2 separate regions of the Homo sapiens genome follow, and region 1 is linked to region 2. Evidence: promoter capture Hi-C in 16 types of primary human blood cells and fetal thymus (Javierre and others, 2016). All regions are on one chromosome and are shown on one strand. The core of a region is centred on a gene start or on the middle of the fragment in contact, and the rest is flanking DNA. Distances in the headings are between cores, read along the strand shown.

Region 1 (6,971 bases), core at 148-2,647, 530 kb after region 2:
CACCACTATGCCTGGCTAATTAAAAAAAGTTTTTTTGTAGAGATGGATTCTCACTATGTTGTCCAGGCTGATCTTGCAATTCAGGGCTCAAAATCCTCCCACTTCAGCCTCCCAAAGCACTGAGATTATAGGCATGAGCCACCACACTCAGCCTTTTTTTAAGCCTATCATGGAGTGGTGCCTTCTTCATTGCACACTTTGGCCTATATAGCTTTGGGGTAGTGAATCCACAGAATATATGTTCTTCACCCTACATATTTGCTGGTTTTCTTAATCTTGGCAGGCAAATTTTGTCTTTATCTTACAGATCTAAAACCCAAGAATGATCTTTGGTATTTTACTTCTTTCAGGATTCAAGTTCCTCTGGTAAAAAGGCTTGTTGTTGATATAATTAACCAATAGTCTGTGCTCATCACTAAATATTTAGAAGACCACAGACACAGACTACATAGCTGTTATAGAAGAGCACAGAGAAGCATGAGTTAAGTTAGTGTGCAAAAATGTGTATACATGCTTGTATGTAGGAGTGTGTATTTGTGCCCCAGAGCTAATAACATTAAGCTGAGATTACAGAGTGTAGAATACAACTTGGAGAAAATGGTTAAGATGGTATCTAATATTTCCATTAGGGACTTTTCTGTTCAGAGCTGTCAAAACAGATTCTGTGAATTGACTAGACTATGGAAGGTGATCATAATGATATTGATGAAACACATAACTGAAAAACAGAATTTAAATAGAAGAGAGTCTCTAGAAATACAACTAAATCTTAATCTGGAGATACATGCCTCAAAATAACTCTCTCCCATTCCTTTTTCCCTCTCAACAAAAACAAACTCACTGGAAAAGGACAATCAAACATTTCCAAGCCTTGCAATGCCCTATTTCCCATCGGAGTTTCGGGAAAAAAAAATGTATGAGTCACATTCTTAACCTGGCAATAAGGTCCACGAGGTATTTGGTTTCTCTGTGTTTGCCAGCTTTCTTGTACATAGGCGAGGTTGCCAGATCCAAAGAGAGAGTAGTGTGGATAAGACCATTTGACAAAGGCTGCAGCTTTAGGAAGAACTTGACCAACCTTTAGTAAACCAGCAAGAAGGAGGCCAGACTCTCTCCTTCCACCCTCAAATCCCCTCAGTGCCCCTGTTTGGCTGAACCCAGTGAGAATCCAAAGGGCTAAACAATCTCTTGATGCAGTCATAGAGGTCAGCCTCCTCTATAGAGGAGGCAGGATGGCACAAGGCAGGACAGAAAAGAATGAAGGGTGAAGCTTGGGGGCAATGAAGAAGAAATCCAGCCCACCTATCACCCTCCAATGTCTTGACTGCTAAAGGATACTCTTGAGAGTACTCTTAAGTACTCTCGAGTTGTTTTGAGATTCCCCAAAGAGGATGTTTCAAGAATAGCTGAAAAATTTGGGTTTTTATGTGAAAATCCCCCTACTTTTCAGTTTTGGCACCCTACTTGAAAAAATTAAATAACCAAAATACTCCTGTGAGGAAGATTTCACTACGGAAAGCTTTTGACCACTGATCTAGAGCAATGCTATGATTTTAATTGAATTTCAAAAATGTCAAAAGCATGGCCGGGCGCGGTGGTTCACACCTGTAATCATCCCAGCACTTTGGGAGGCCAAGGCAGGCAGATAGCCTGAAGTTGGGAGTTTGAGACCAGCCTGGGCTATATGGTGAAATCCCGTCTCTACTAAAAATACAAAAATTACCCAGGCACAGTGGCAGGCACCTGTAATCCCAGCTACTTGGGAGGCTGAGGCAGGAAAATCGTTTGAACCTGGGAGATGGAGGTTGCAGTGAGCCGAAATCGTGCCACTGTACTCCAACCTGGACAACAGAGCAAGACTCCTCTGTCTCAAAAAAAAGAAAAAAATGTCAAAAGCAGATTTCTGCTCTAATACAAGATGGAGTAACAGGGATATGAATTAACTTTCTGCTTGAAAAAAAAACTAAACTAAAAATCAGATATATATATATCTGATATATATAACCAGATATATATATATATATATATATATATATATATATATATGGCTTCCATTAGGCAATGTAAAATAGTAATCTATTAAAGAAGAGAAATGAATGAGGAAAACCCTAATATTTCTCCAACTTACTGCCTGGAGAGTTTCCAGGCCTCAGTTTAGCATGGGGATAGGGACCCAGACAAAGCCCAGCAGTCTTCTTGATTTGAGGAGACAAAACTGTAAGGATGAGGAGGCCAAGATGGCTAGAGTTTTTGGAGCAGAGTTCCAGAGAGGAGAGACCTGCCCAGAAAGAAAAATCTAGAGAAGTGAATAGGGTCTTCCTCAACTCCACCTGAGTGTTGATCAGCACACGCATGTGAAGAAAATACCCCAAGCCCACAGGATTAGGCAGGATTTCTCAACCTCAGCTCTATTGACATTTGGAGGCAAAAAATTCTATATTGTGGGAGCTGCATTATAGGATATTTAGCAATATCCTGACTTCTACCAACTAGATGCCAGTAGCACTACCCCACCAGTTGTAACAACAAAAAGTGTCTCTACACATTGTCAAATGACCTCTATGGGGCAAAATTATCCCAGCTGAGAACTACTGGATGAGAGGTATTAATACCCAGTATTTACCCTGACTGAGGATTGTCCCCTTTCCCACTCACGAAAGTGGAAAACTTCATAATTCATGAGGTATCAGGAAAAGAACTCAGAAGGGTCTTGCTTCAGTAGTGAGCTAAAGTAGTACTGGACTAAATGCTGCTCTGGTTTAATCTAAGTAGGCTTATAAACAAGAAGTGAAACTTAACTATATCCATGAAGAAAGCTCAAGTTATATGTATAGTAATAAAACTAACAACCAGCACAGAACAAAAAATATTTTAAATGCACAGGACCCAATCAAAAATGGCCAGACATTCAAAAAAGCAGGAAAATATGACCCACAATAAGATTAAAAAAATCAATCAAAACCAACTCAAAGTGACAGATGATAAAATTAGTAGACAAGGATATTAAATAGTTACTATAACTGTATTTCATATGCTCAAAAAGCTAGAAAAAAGGTTGAGAATGGTAAGTAGAGACATGGATGATATTTTTAAAAGAACCAAATTGAACTTCTAGAGATAAAAACTACAAATGTCTGAAATTGAAAAACACTTGGTGAGATCAGTGGCATATTATACATTGCAGAAGAAAAGATTAGTGAACCTGGAGGTATAGAGATTGAAAGGATATAAAATAAAACACACAAAAATAAAAAGCTGGAGAAAAATAAACAGAGCTTTAGTGAGCTGTGGGATAATTTCAAGCAGCCTAACATGCCTGTAATTGGAGTGCATCAAAGAGAGGAAAGAGAGAAGGGTACAGACAAGATATTTGAAAAAATAAAGGTCAAAATATTTCAAATGTGGTAAAAATTATAATCCACCAATCTAAAGAGTTCAATTAAACCAATCACAAAAAAATGCAAAGAAAACTACACCAAGGCTTATCTTAATCAAATTATTTAAAACCAGTGATAGAGAAGAAGACATCAAAACAGTCAGGGGGACAAGGACACATTCTGGGCAAAGGAACAAACATATTAGGTTAGGTTAGTGCAAACGTAATTTCGGTTTTTGCAATTACCTTTAATGAAAAAACCTAAATTGTGTTTGCACCAACCTAATAAAAATGATAACAAAAAATAAGTAAGCTGGATAACATTAGAACATCTTTGAAGTACTGAAAGAATAAGTAAAACCATCAACCTAGATTTTTATACCTAAGGAAAGCATATTTTAAAAACAAAGGTAAAATTACTTTCTCAGACATACAAAAGCTAAAAGAATTCATCATCAGGAGACCTAAGCTACAAAAAAAAAAAAAAAAAAAAAAAAAGGTAAGAGAAATGCTTCAGGCAGAAGGAAAATGATACCAGATGGAAATTTGAATCTACTTAAAAAAATGTAGGGCACTACAAATGTTAGCTACGTGGGTAAATATAAAATATAAATATAAAATACTTGTTTTCTTATTTTTAAAATCTCTTTAAAAGAAAATGGACTGTTTAAAGCAAAAATAATAAGATATTCTAGGTTTTTTTCTTTTAAAAAAGATTTTGTTACTTTTTGTTTGTTTGTTTTTTTCTAGCGGCCCTCATCCAATTGTGTGGTGTTTATAACATACATGGAAGTAAAATATGTGATAACTATAGCACAAATGCTGGGAGGGGAGAAACAGAAGCATATTAACTGAGTTATTACCCTATGCATCAAGTGGTATAATATAATATCACTTGAAGGCAAACTGTGATAAGTTAAAGAATCATAAAACATATTCAATTAATCTAAAGTAGGCACAAAAAGAAGGAAAAGGAAATGAATAAGAAACAGAAAACAAATAATACTGTGGTAGATTTAAACCCAACTGTACTAGTCAGGGTTCTCTAGAAACAGAACTAATAGGAGAGATGTGTGTATGAAAGGGAGTTTATTAAGGAGTATTGACTCACATGATCACAAGGTGAAGTCCCACAATAGGCCATCTGCAAGCTGAGGAGCAATGAAGCCAGTCCGAGTCCCAAAACCTCAAAAGCAGAGAAGCCAACAGTGCAGCCTTCAGTCTGTGGCCGAAGGCCCGAGAGCCGCTGGCAAACTACTGGTGTAAGTCCAGGAGTCCAAAAGCTGAAGAACTTGGAGTCAGATGTTCGAGGTCAGGAAGCATCCAGCATGGGAGAAAGATGTTTACTACAAACCCTAAAGCAACCACTAAAATAACACAACAAAGAATTATAGCTAATAAACCAACAAAGTATCACCTGCCCAGCTACTTTTTTTTTTTTTTGAGACAGAGTTTTGCTCTTGTCGCCTAGGCTGAAGTGCAATGGCGTGACCTCGGCTCACTGCAACCTCCTTCTCCCAGGTTCAAGCAATTCTCCTGTCTCAACCTCTCGAGTAGCTGGAATTACAGGCACCTGCCACTACACCCGGCTAATTTTTGTATTTTTAGTAGAGATGGGGTTTCACCATGTTGGCCAGGCTGGTTCGAACTCTTGACCTCAGGTGATCCACCTGCCTCAGCCTCCCAAAGTGCTGGGATTACGGGCAGGAGCCACTGCGCCCAGACAATTTTTTTTATTTTTTTGTAGAGACAGGGTCTCACTATGTTGCCCAGGCTGGTCTTGAAATCCTGACCTCAAGCAATCCTCCCACCTGAGAAATCCACTTTAAAAATAAAGACATAGACCTGGCATAGTGGCTCACGCCTATAATTCCAGCACTCTGGGGGGCCAAGGCAGGCAGATCTCTTGAGGCCAGGAGTTCAACACTAGCCTGGCCAAGATGATGAAACCCCGTCTCTACTAAAAAAACACAGAAATTAGCCAGGTGTGGTGGCACACACCTATAGTCCCAGCTACTCAGAAGGCTGAGACACAAGAATCCCTTGAACCTGAAAGGCGGAGGTTGCAGTGAGCCGAGATCGCACCGCTGCACTTCAGCCTGGGAGACAAAATGAGACTCTGTCTCAAAATAAATAAATAAACGGACACACACGGTTTAAAATTTAAAAGGCAAAAAAGATATAACATGCTAACACTAACTAAAAGAAAGCTAGAGTGGCTATGTTACTATCAAAGTAGATTTTAAAAAATAAAACTGGTCATTTAATAATGATAATGGGATAAATTTATCAAAAGGTCATAATAATCTTAAGTTACCAGCAACAAACAATAGAGATAATTATTTGATGTAACATTCAAAAATTAATCATTGTAATTCACCATGTTAATAGACTAAAAGTGAATAACTATTATTGTCTACATAGACGCAGAAAAAGTATTGGACAAGACGTGCGGCCAGCCGAGCCAGCATTCCTGGCTCGCTTCAAGGAGTGGGTTGGCTATAGGGAGGAGCCCACCGTAGAGACCAAGAGAATCCAGCCTCATCTCCCAGACGAAAATGGGGATCACAGTGACAAAGATGAAGAGCCTCAAGTGATGTTTTTTAAAAAGGGAGACCTGTCAGTTGAAGAAGTCATGAAAATTAAAGCAGAAGTAAAGGCTGCCAAAGCAGATAAAGAACCAGCTCCAGCTGAGGGAAGAATCATGTATCAAAAACCAGTAAAGCACCAGTCAAGTGCCCCTCAGATGAAAAATATTCAGGTTTAAAAGCAAGCCCAAAAAGAAGACAAATTAAGATGCAATAAATCAGGACTCAGTCAAAAAGAACTCACAAAAACAAATAAAAAACAGTAGCCTCCTTTCTTTTGACAGTGAAGATGACAATAAGTAAGTGTAAATATTTTGAATTTAGTCTACGTTGAAAGTACATGCGATGTTTTTTAAAGTAACATTTTTTTCCTATTATAAAGATACTACAGGCCAGGCACGGCGGTTCACGCCGGTAATCCCAGCACTTTGGAAGGCCAAGGAGGGCACATCACTTGAGGTCAGGAGTTCGAGACCAGCCTGGCCAACATGGTGAAACGCCATCTCTACTAATAATACAAAAATTAGCCGGGCATGGTGGCAGTCACCTGTAATCCCAGCTACTCAGGAAGCTGAGGCAGGAGAAGAGCTTGAATCTGAGAGGCGGAGGTTTGCAGTGAACTGAGATCAGGCCATTGTACTCCAGCCTGGGCGACAGAGCCAGACTTTATCTCAAAAAAAAAAATAAAAAAAAAATAAAAACTACAAGTTACTTATAGAAAATTTAGGAAATACAGGAAAAAATTTAATAAACTACATCTATTCATCAATACCCCTCTGACTTAATATGCCAACTCTAGAAATTAGCTAGTATTACCATTTTGTTATTTCCCCTGTGTGGGTGTATATATATGTAAATTATATTTTTAAACAAAATACATTTTGTTTGTGTAAACAAAAAAAGAAACGGTATTAGACAAAATCCAACATTCGTGCCGGGCAAAAACTCTAACCAAACTTGAAATTGCAGGGAATTCCCTCAACCTGGTAAAACGCATCTTTGATAAA
Region 2 (7,377 bases), core at 258-2,757:
CGAGATAGCGCCACTGCACTCCAGCCTGGGCGACAGTGAGACTCCGTTTCAGTAAAATAAAAAAAAAAGATACCATAAATTATATGGGCCTAAACTTGAACCTTCCTTACTCACCCCTCACTTATACTCTACCCCTTCTACCCTCAAGAACCAAATCATGGTAGTCATCCTGAAACCAAGCATCGCACAGTGCACCTTACTATCTAAACCTTTGCTCATAGGGCTGCCTCTTCTCCAGCTCCAACCACTGGAAATTCCATCCCTCAAAGCCCAGATCAACTGCTAACTGCTTCATAACCACCTAGTCCAAAATGAATATGATCATTATGTTCCAGAACTCCTCTATGCTTCAAATTAGAGTACTCCCTGATCTACCACTACCTGCTGGACTAGTCACTTAACTTCTCTTCGCCTCAGTTTCCTAATCTGTAAAATGGAGCTAAAAGGACCTACCATACCACATATTATTGTTGGATAATAGAGAACACTTAGCATGGTAATAACATGTTCAATTAAAACATTATTTCTGTGCTACATATATTTTCCATGCTCCTTGAAGGCTCCGAAAGAGCATTTTCCATTTCTGAATCTCCCAAGTTTGACGCCATTTACCTCTCAATGTTTTGACTTTTTGTATCCATAAAATGAAAGAAATGGACTAGACCAACTACCATTCCCTCCAAAAATGTTATCTATTCCCTTGCAAAAATAGCCTAACGCAAAGATACTGCAGGTGACCTTCCACAAGGACGGGAATTCGAGGGTAAGTTAACTATTGCTGCAAACGGAAGTGGCTGGAAGCAAAGAGATTAAAACAACATTCAAGATTTTGAAGATCCTTTCCAAAGAAACTGACTCCTGCCATAGTGATGGATCCTTTGAAATATGTTTTTAAGTTGGGTTACAAGGATGAACTCGGGGTCCATGAACTCCCAAACAGAAATGTAAAACTGTGCGCCAGAACAAATATACAAATTTTTCTGGGGCCAGAGTGTCTGCAGCATACATTAAATGCATCTGTGACCTTAAGGGGCGAAAAGAGGGTGACAATGAAGAGACTAGTCGCGTTAAGTTGGAAACCACAATGGATGATACTTTAGACAACAAACGCAACCTCAGATAACCATAATCCCCAACAAGTGAGAAGATGACCTCAGACCGGGCGAAGCAGCCGCCGGGTATGAGGAGACGCTGGTGGAAGCAATGCTACCCAGAGCTCTGCACCTTTCCCAGGTCGGCATCCAGCCCGCATGGCCCGCGGCGTGAGACCCGGGGCGAGGCCCCTCGGCAAACCCCGCTTCCCGCCCCGGTACCTGCGGGGTCGAGCGCCATCTCGGCGGGCCGAGAAGAACGTAGCCGCTTGGCGGCTCCGGGGCACGCAGGAAGGGGAGTGGAGGGGAGGGGCTTGGGCTCGGACGCACGTGCGACCCCCGGGAGCTTCCCGCAACAGAAACACGGGCCCTTTGCAAAGCACCGCCAGGACCCGTTCCCTCTTCCTTCCCAGGCTCCTACTTCCGCCGCCCGTTGCGCCTGCGCCTTTCTGGCCCCGCCCCAATCCTGTAACTAGAGTGGAACTGACTTCGCAGGGGGAATGACCAGGAAAGGGGGCGTGTCTGCGTGCCTTTGGGGCGGGACCGTGCAGGACGCGCGCAGCCTCGCTTCAGGAGGCTTGTGCACCAGTTGCAGACCCGGGTCGGCCGTGACTGGAGGCGGACCTGCAGGACTTTGGGACTGTGCCTCACTCGGTGACTGGGCCAAAGTCCGAGCCCCGTCCCCCATACCCGCCTTCGGAGAACCAAATGAATCATCCAGTTCCTTTTTTTTTCTTCGTTAACGTTCATTCATTCATAAATGTCTATTTCATGCCTGCCAAGTTCCAGCCACGGTTCTGAATACGAGGGGAAAATAACAATAAAAATAACGTCCCTGTTCTCAAGGAGCAGTGTGGCAGAGGAGACAAATAAAAGCAACACGCTGTTAAATGTGATAAACGCCACACGCACTAGTTGTTCACAGCTTGTTCTACCATAAAGGTGATATGGTGTGTGCAATATCGTTATTTCTCCTTCAAATCAAAGACTGTGGCTCTCCTAGACGTTAAAATATGGGCTCTAGAAGTACCTCTATGTTGTGAAATAATATCCTCAGGACGTACAGTATGATTTGGGTGATGTTACAAATCCTGCCTCTATCAGTAAAAGCTGTATGTTTTGTGAGAGTAAAATGAAGGAAGGTAATAGCCGTCCCGCTGAAGACCCACTACTCACCTCTTCTCAATAGAAGAAACTTTCTAGGTGGCACTTAGGTTCATTTCCACTCACAAACCAGCCTTCAGAAGTGCTTCCTTGTCAAATTCACGTTTAACTGGCTCGAGCCACGAAAGGGTGAGCTGAGGCCTGGGACAGATGGGACAGATGTTTAGAAAAACAAGGAGCAGCTGCTTCTTCCCTGCAAGGGATTCAGGGCTTTCAAAATGATCCCCTCCCCACCTACCTGCAGTCCCTCCTCCCCTGCTGCTGCTTCCGCCTGGTCAGTTGGCAGAAAAGCTGAGGCAGTTGAGCAGGGCTGGGAAAGTGGGTCTCTGCTCAGCAGGTCTTCCGTTTAAGGGCCTATTTGGGCATAACGGCCCTTATTACAGCTGTAGGTTGAGGTGCCAAGGTGAAGAATTAACGTTTCACTCACCCAGCCAGGGAATCAGGTCCTTTTCCTTGTATATTTTGTAAATATGCTTAGAAATACACCAAAATGACTCTGGTATGCCTCTTTTATTGTTCTGAAGGTGAAGGATTTGATTTAGAAAGCTAAAGCAATCTTTTTGAGGAGATGGAGTATGAAAACACAGGTCAGACACCCATATTCAAGAATTAAACTAAATCTTTCTATATGCAAAAGGGTATTATGGTAAAGGAGGAAAGTTTGATCTGTTATCTTAGTGAGTTGAGTAAGTTCTATTATTTTTCTGGACTTTGGTTTCCAATTTACAAGGTTGTTCTGAGGAATAAATGTGATATCATACAATGCATTTGAAAGACTTTAAAGGACCACTTCTACCATTTCTGCCATAGCTATTACTTGAAACATTACTATTTAACATTTGTTTTTAAATCAACACATTTTTAAAAACACTTAAATAGGCACTATTTACTTTAGCCTTATCCTAAGCAACAGTATCTGTAATATCATGGGTTTTGTGTGCCCCATAGAATGAACTGCTAGACGTATCACACCAGGAGAAGCACTAGCAAAAACGGTAGCCCAATACCTGATACATAATAGTATATCTCTCTCTACTCCCATGTTAAACCAGATACTTTGGGGGGAAACTGAGTCTTTACAATCTATACCTAGGGAAGATAAGTCATTTTTTAAGTTAAGCGAATGTAATTGGCAATTAAAAACAGAAGAAATTTCCTGAGGCATCGCATTATTAATAGGCAATTCTTTGGGTAGTAACTGCAAAAGGAGCTCAAGGAAAGAGGAGAGGACATCATCCTGGAAATTAGGAACAGTGTCTTACCCAGCTGTGATCCCTAGAGCTCAGGCAACGTCTGGTAACTGGTGACCCCACAAAAGCCTTTCTCAAAGGATTGAATGCCGCAATGGTTAGGAAAGACTTCAGAGATAAGTTAGAAGTTATGCTCGGCCTTGAACGATGGGTACAATGAGTAGACAGAAAAAAGGGCATCTCATGCTGGGAGAAAAATGAGAGCAAAAGCATCTGGGATTTGAACTGTTCTTGAAAGAGCATGGTGGAGCATGGCAGAGTACAGGCTAAGGAATGGAATCACATGAACAAAAGCACAGGGGTGGGAAGCACCCAGCTGTGTGGCAGGAAGCACCACGGGGCTGTGTGGCAGGCATGTGGTGGGCAATGCTTGAAACTACTTCAATGCATTTTAGGATTTGGGAAGCTAGGGCAGTTATGCATTGGCTAGAAAAGTCCAGATTCCCACAGCCTTAAACACTAGACAGAGGTGTGTTTGAATGTGTTACTATAAGCAACCAGAATCTGTTGAAGGTTAATATATAGGAAAAGAGCATTGTGGTCAAAATTTTCTAAAGGTGTTTTATAAAAGTTTTGCGCAGGATGAATGTAGGCAGCGAGGAAAGAGCTAAAAGGCAAGCAGAAAAGTAAGGAGGCTATTGTACTGGTTTGGGCAAGATATGAAAAGAGCCTCAACTGGGATATATAAAAGGATGGATGTGAGAGTAATTGCAAAGGAAGAATCTATCCTTTGAAATTGGATTTAGAAGACTAAGACAAAGAGTCAAGATTTCTGGATAATTCCTTTTTTTGGCAAATGTATACAGACAAATGAGAAAATCATGGCAATGTGCCTATTCATGCCTGAAATGATCTGCCTTGATCCTCATTATTGGGGGCTAACAGTGGCGATAATGAAACAGAAAGATCAGTTCAGAGAAATTTGCAGTAATGCAGGGTAATAACAGTAGTTGAACCACAGTGAATTTCTCTTTGTATGTGAAGGCAAAGGAATGTGCAAGTAGAAACAAGTATCTTGATTATTTTTGAGTCAATTCTGAATTGGATCTAACATTCCTTTATGCTATATGTTGATATGCAGCTAGTTGTTTTTTGAAATTGAGATTATCAGTCAGCCCCTCCTTGCTTCTGCCTCTTCTTAGCATCAGAAGTAAAGACTTTTCATCTGCAGCTTGGCTCTGCTACAGATGAGAATAAAACTTGAAATCAATGAGATTTCAAATTTGAGTCAGTAAGAATCAAACTTGAAAGAATATTAGACGCCTCATCTCTACCAGAGGATAGGATTTAGAAGTAGTTCTCGGCCAGAAGATCACTAATCAAGGGTCCCTGGTGGCCCTGCCTACTTTCTGAGCTGTATTATTTAGCACCCAGTTTGCATGGCTTGTGCCTTCTCTGGTTTAAAAGGACTTAGGTCCATGTTGACATTTCTATTATTTGCTAGGGTGGTCATAATGAAGTGCCACAGTCTGGGTAGCTTAAACAACAGAAATATTTTCTCACAATTGCAGGTTAGAAGTCTGAGATCAAAAATGTCGGCAGAGTTGCTTTCTCCTGAGGCCTCTCTTCTTGATTTGTACATGGCATCTTCTCCTGTGTCTTCACATGGTCTTCCCTCTGTGTGGCTGTGTCTCCTAATGTCTTCTTGTAAGGACATCAGCCATATTGGATTGGGACCAACTCTAATGAATATCCTAATGGCCTCATTTTGTCTAAACTACCTCTTTTAAAACCGTATCTCCAAATGCAGTCACATTCTGAGGTGCTGGGGGCTAGGACTTCAACACAAGAATTTTGGGAGACACAGTTCAACTGATAAAAGCATTGAAATATTTTTAAAGGACTACAATTATTCCCTGAATCCCAAATCACTTCACTAGAGCCCTGAGAACCTGTCTAGTGTTAGCCTGTCACCAGAATAAAATACTTTGTCCCTGTTTTCCTGGCTGTTGAATAGGGCCTGTTTTAATCTGACTCAGTTCACCTATCCACTTCAATCAGCTCCTGACTGTCCCTTCTCTACATCTGATTGATCAAAACATGTAGTCAGTTCTCCTTCCTTAATATATCTTTATTTCATCTGCCAATCAGAGTCATAACTCCTAGTCCAAGGTCTGCCCATTTGTGCTGATATTATTGTAATAGTTCTGAACTGGCTCTCTGTTCCTAGGCATTTCTTCCTCCCACTTATTCTCTCTATTCCATGTCACCCACAACAGCAAATATGATTATAAAATTTCTTATATAAAATTCCCAGTAAGAGACAACCTATGGAATGGGAGAATATATTTGCAAATCATACAAATGATAAGGAGCTAATATCCAAAATATATAAGGAATTCAAACAACTCCATAGCAAGAAAACAAATAACCCAATATAAAAATGGGCAAAGGACATTAATAGGCATTTCTCAAAAGGAGACATATAAATGATAAGTATGTGAAAAAATGTTCAACATCATTAATCATCAGGGAAATTCAAATTAAAACCACAATGAGATATCACTTAAGATCTGTTAGAATAGCAGAAATACAGGAAGATAATAAACATTTATGACGATATAGAGAAAAGAGAACACTTACACACTGCTGGTGGGAATGTAAATTAGTACAGCCATTATGGAAAACAGTCTGGAGGCTCCCCAGAAACTTAAGAACAGAACTATCATATGATCCAGCAGTCCCACTACTGGGTATATATTCAAAGGATATGAAAGCAACATGCTGAAGAGATATCTGCACTCCCATGTTTTATTGCAGCATAATTCACAATAGCCAAGACATGGAATCATCCTAAGGGTCCATCAATAGACGAATGGATAAAGAAAACATGGTATATATACACAATGGAATACTGTTCAGCTCTAAAAAGAGAAATTCTGTCATTTGCAACAACATGGATGAACCTGAAGGACATTATGTGTCCTTCAATTTTGAAAGACTCTTGCGTGAAATAAGCTCAGCACAGAAAGAAAAATACCGCATGATCTTACTTATATGTGCAGTGTGAAAAAACCAAACTTATAGAAACAGAGAGTAAAATGGTGGTAACCAGAAGCTAGGGGTTTGGGGACCTTGGGGAAATGTTAATTAAAAAAATAGAAAATTTCCATTAGACAGGAAGGATAAGTTCAAGAGATCTACTGTACATCATGATCACTTCAGTTAGTAACAATATATTGTCTATTTGAAAACTGCTACTCTGTAATAAATTTTATGTATTCCCATTACAAAAAAAAGATAAGTATGTAGAGTAATGCATATGTTAAATAACTTTATTTTGTCATTCCACAATATGTATTTTAAACGTCATGATGTACACTATAAATATATACTATCTAACTTGCCAGTTGAAACAAATACATGCATACATACATACATATATAAATCCTCAGTAGTTCCTTATATAAATAAAATTCAAACCCCTTCTTTTAGTAAGGTTCACAAAACTCTTTATAAACTTAGTCCCAGATTACTATATCAACTTTTCGTAACCAACCTCCTTGTAATCTGCAATTTCTGCTACATTAACTTACATACAATGGTTTATTAAATTACCTGTAAAGACTTCTTTGGGCTATCCTGGAAAAATGGGTAAGAGTTTGTAGTTAATATAAAAACTTGAAACTGATGCAGAAAAAGTATCTAGTTTTCACTAGGACCATTGGAACTAAACAGAGTGATATAATTTGGATGTATGTACTCACCCAAATCTCATGCTGAATGTAATCCCCTATATTTGAGGTGGGGCCTGTTGGGAGGTGATTGGATCATGGGGGCAGATTTCTCATGAATGCTTTAGCACCATCCTCTTGGTACTGTCCTTGCGATAGTGAATGAGATCTTGTGAGATCTGTTTAAAAGTGTGTGGC

What was found. Contacts are between HindIII fragments. The CHiCAGO score rates a contact against its expected background, and 5 or more counts as called.
Region 1: a fragment that was not itself captured here is called in contact with the fragment with the promoter of CMC1 in region 2 in 15 of 17 cell types (activated CD4 T cells, naive CD8 T cells, total CD8 T cells and 12 more); the score reaches 17.0 in activated CD4 T cells.

The regions. Positions count from the first base shown.
Region 1 is chr3:27,702,421-27,709,391 of GRCh38, reverse strand. It overlaps the pseudogene KIAA1143P2. Among named protein-coding and RNA genes, the nearest start is that of LINC02084, 7.0 kb to the left of the region's middle. The HindIII fragment of the contact is 249 bases long and covers 1,273-1,521 here.
Region 2 is chr3:28,235,749-28,243,125 of GRCh38, reverse strand. It overlaps CMC1 (C-X9-C motif containing 1), which reads right to left and starts at 1,507. Exons shown (of 4, transcript NM_182523.2): 1 at 1,314-1,507. The coding sequence starts at 1,332. RefSeq lists a silencer at 1,215-1,294. The HindIII fragment of the contact is 9,835 bases long and covers 1-7,377 here.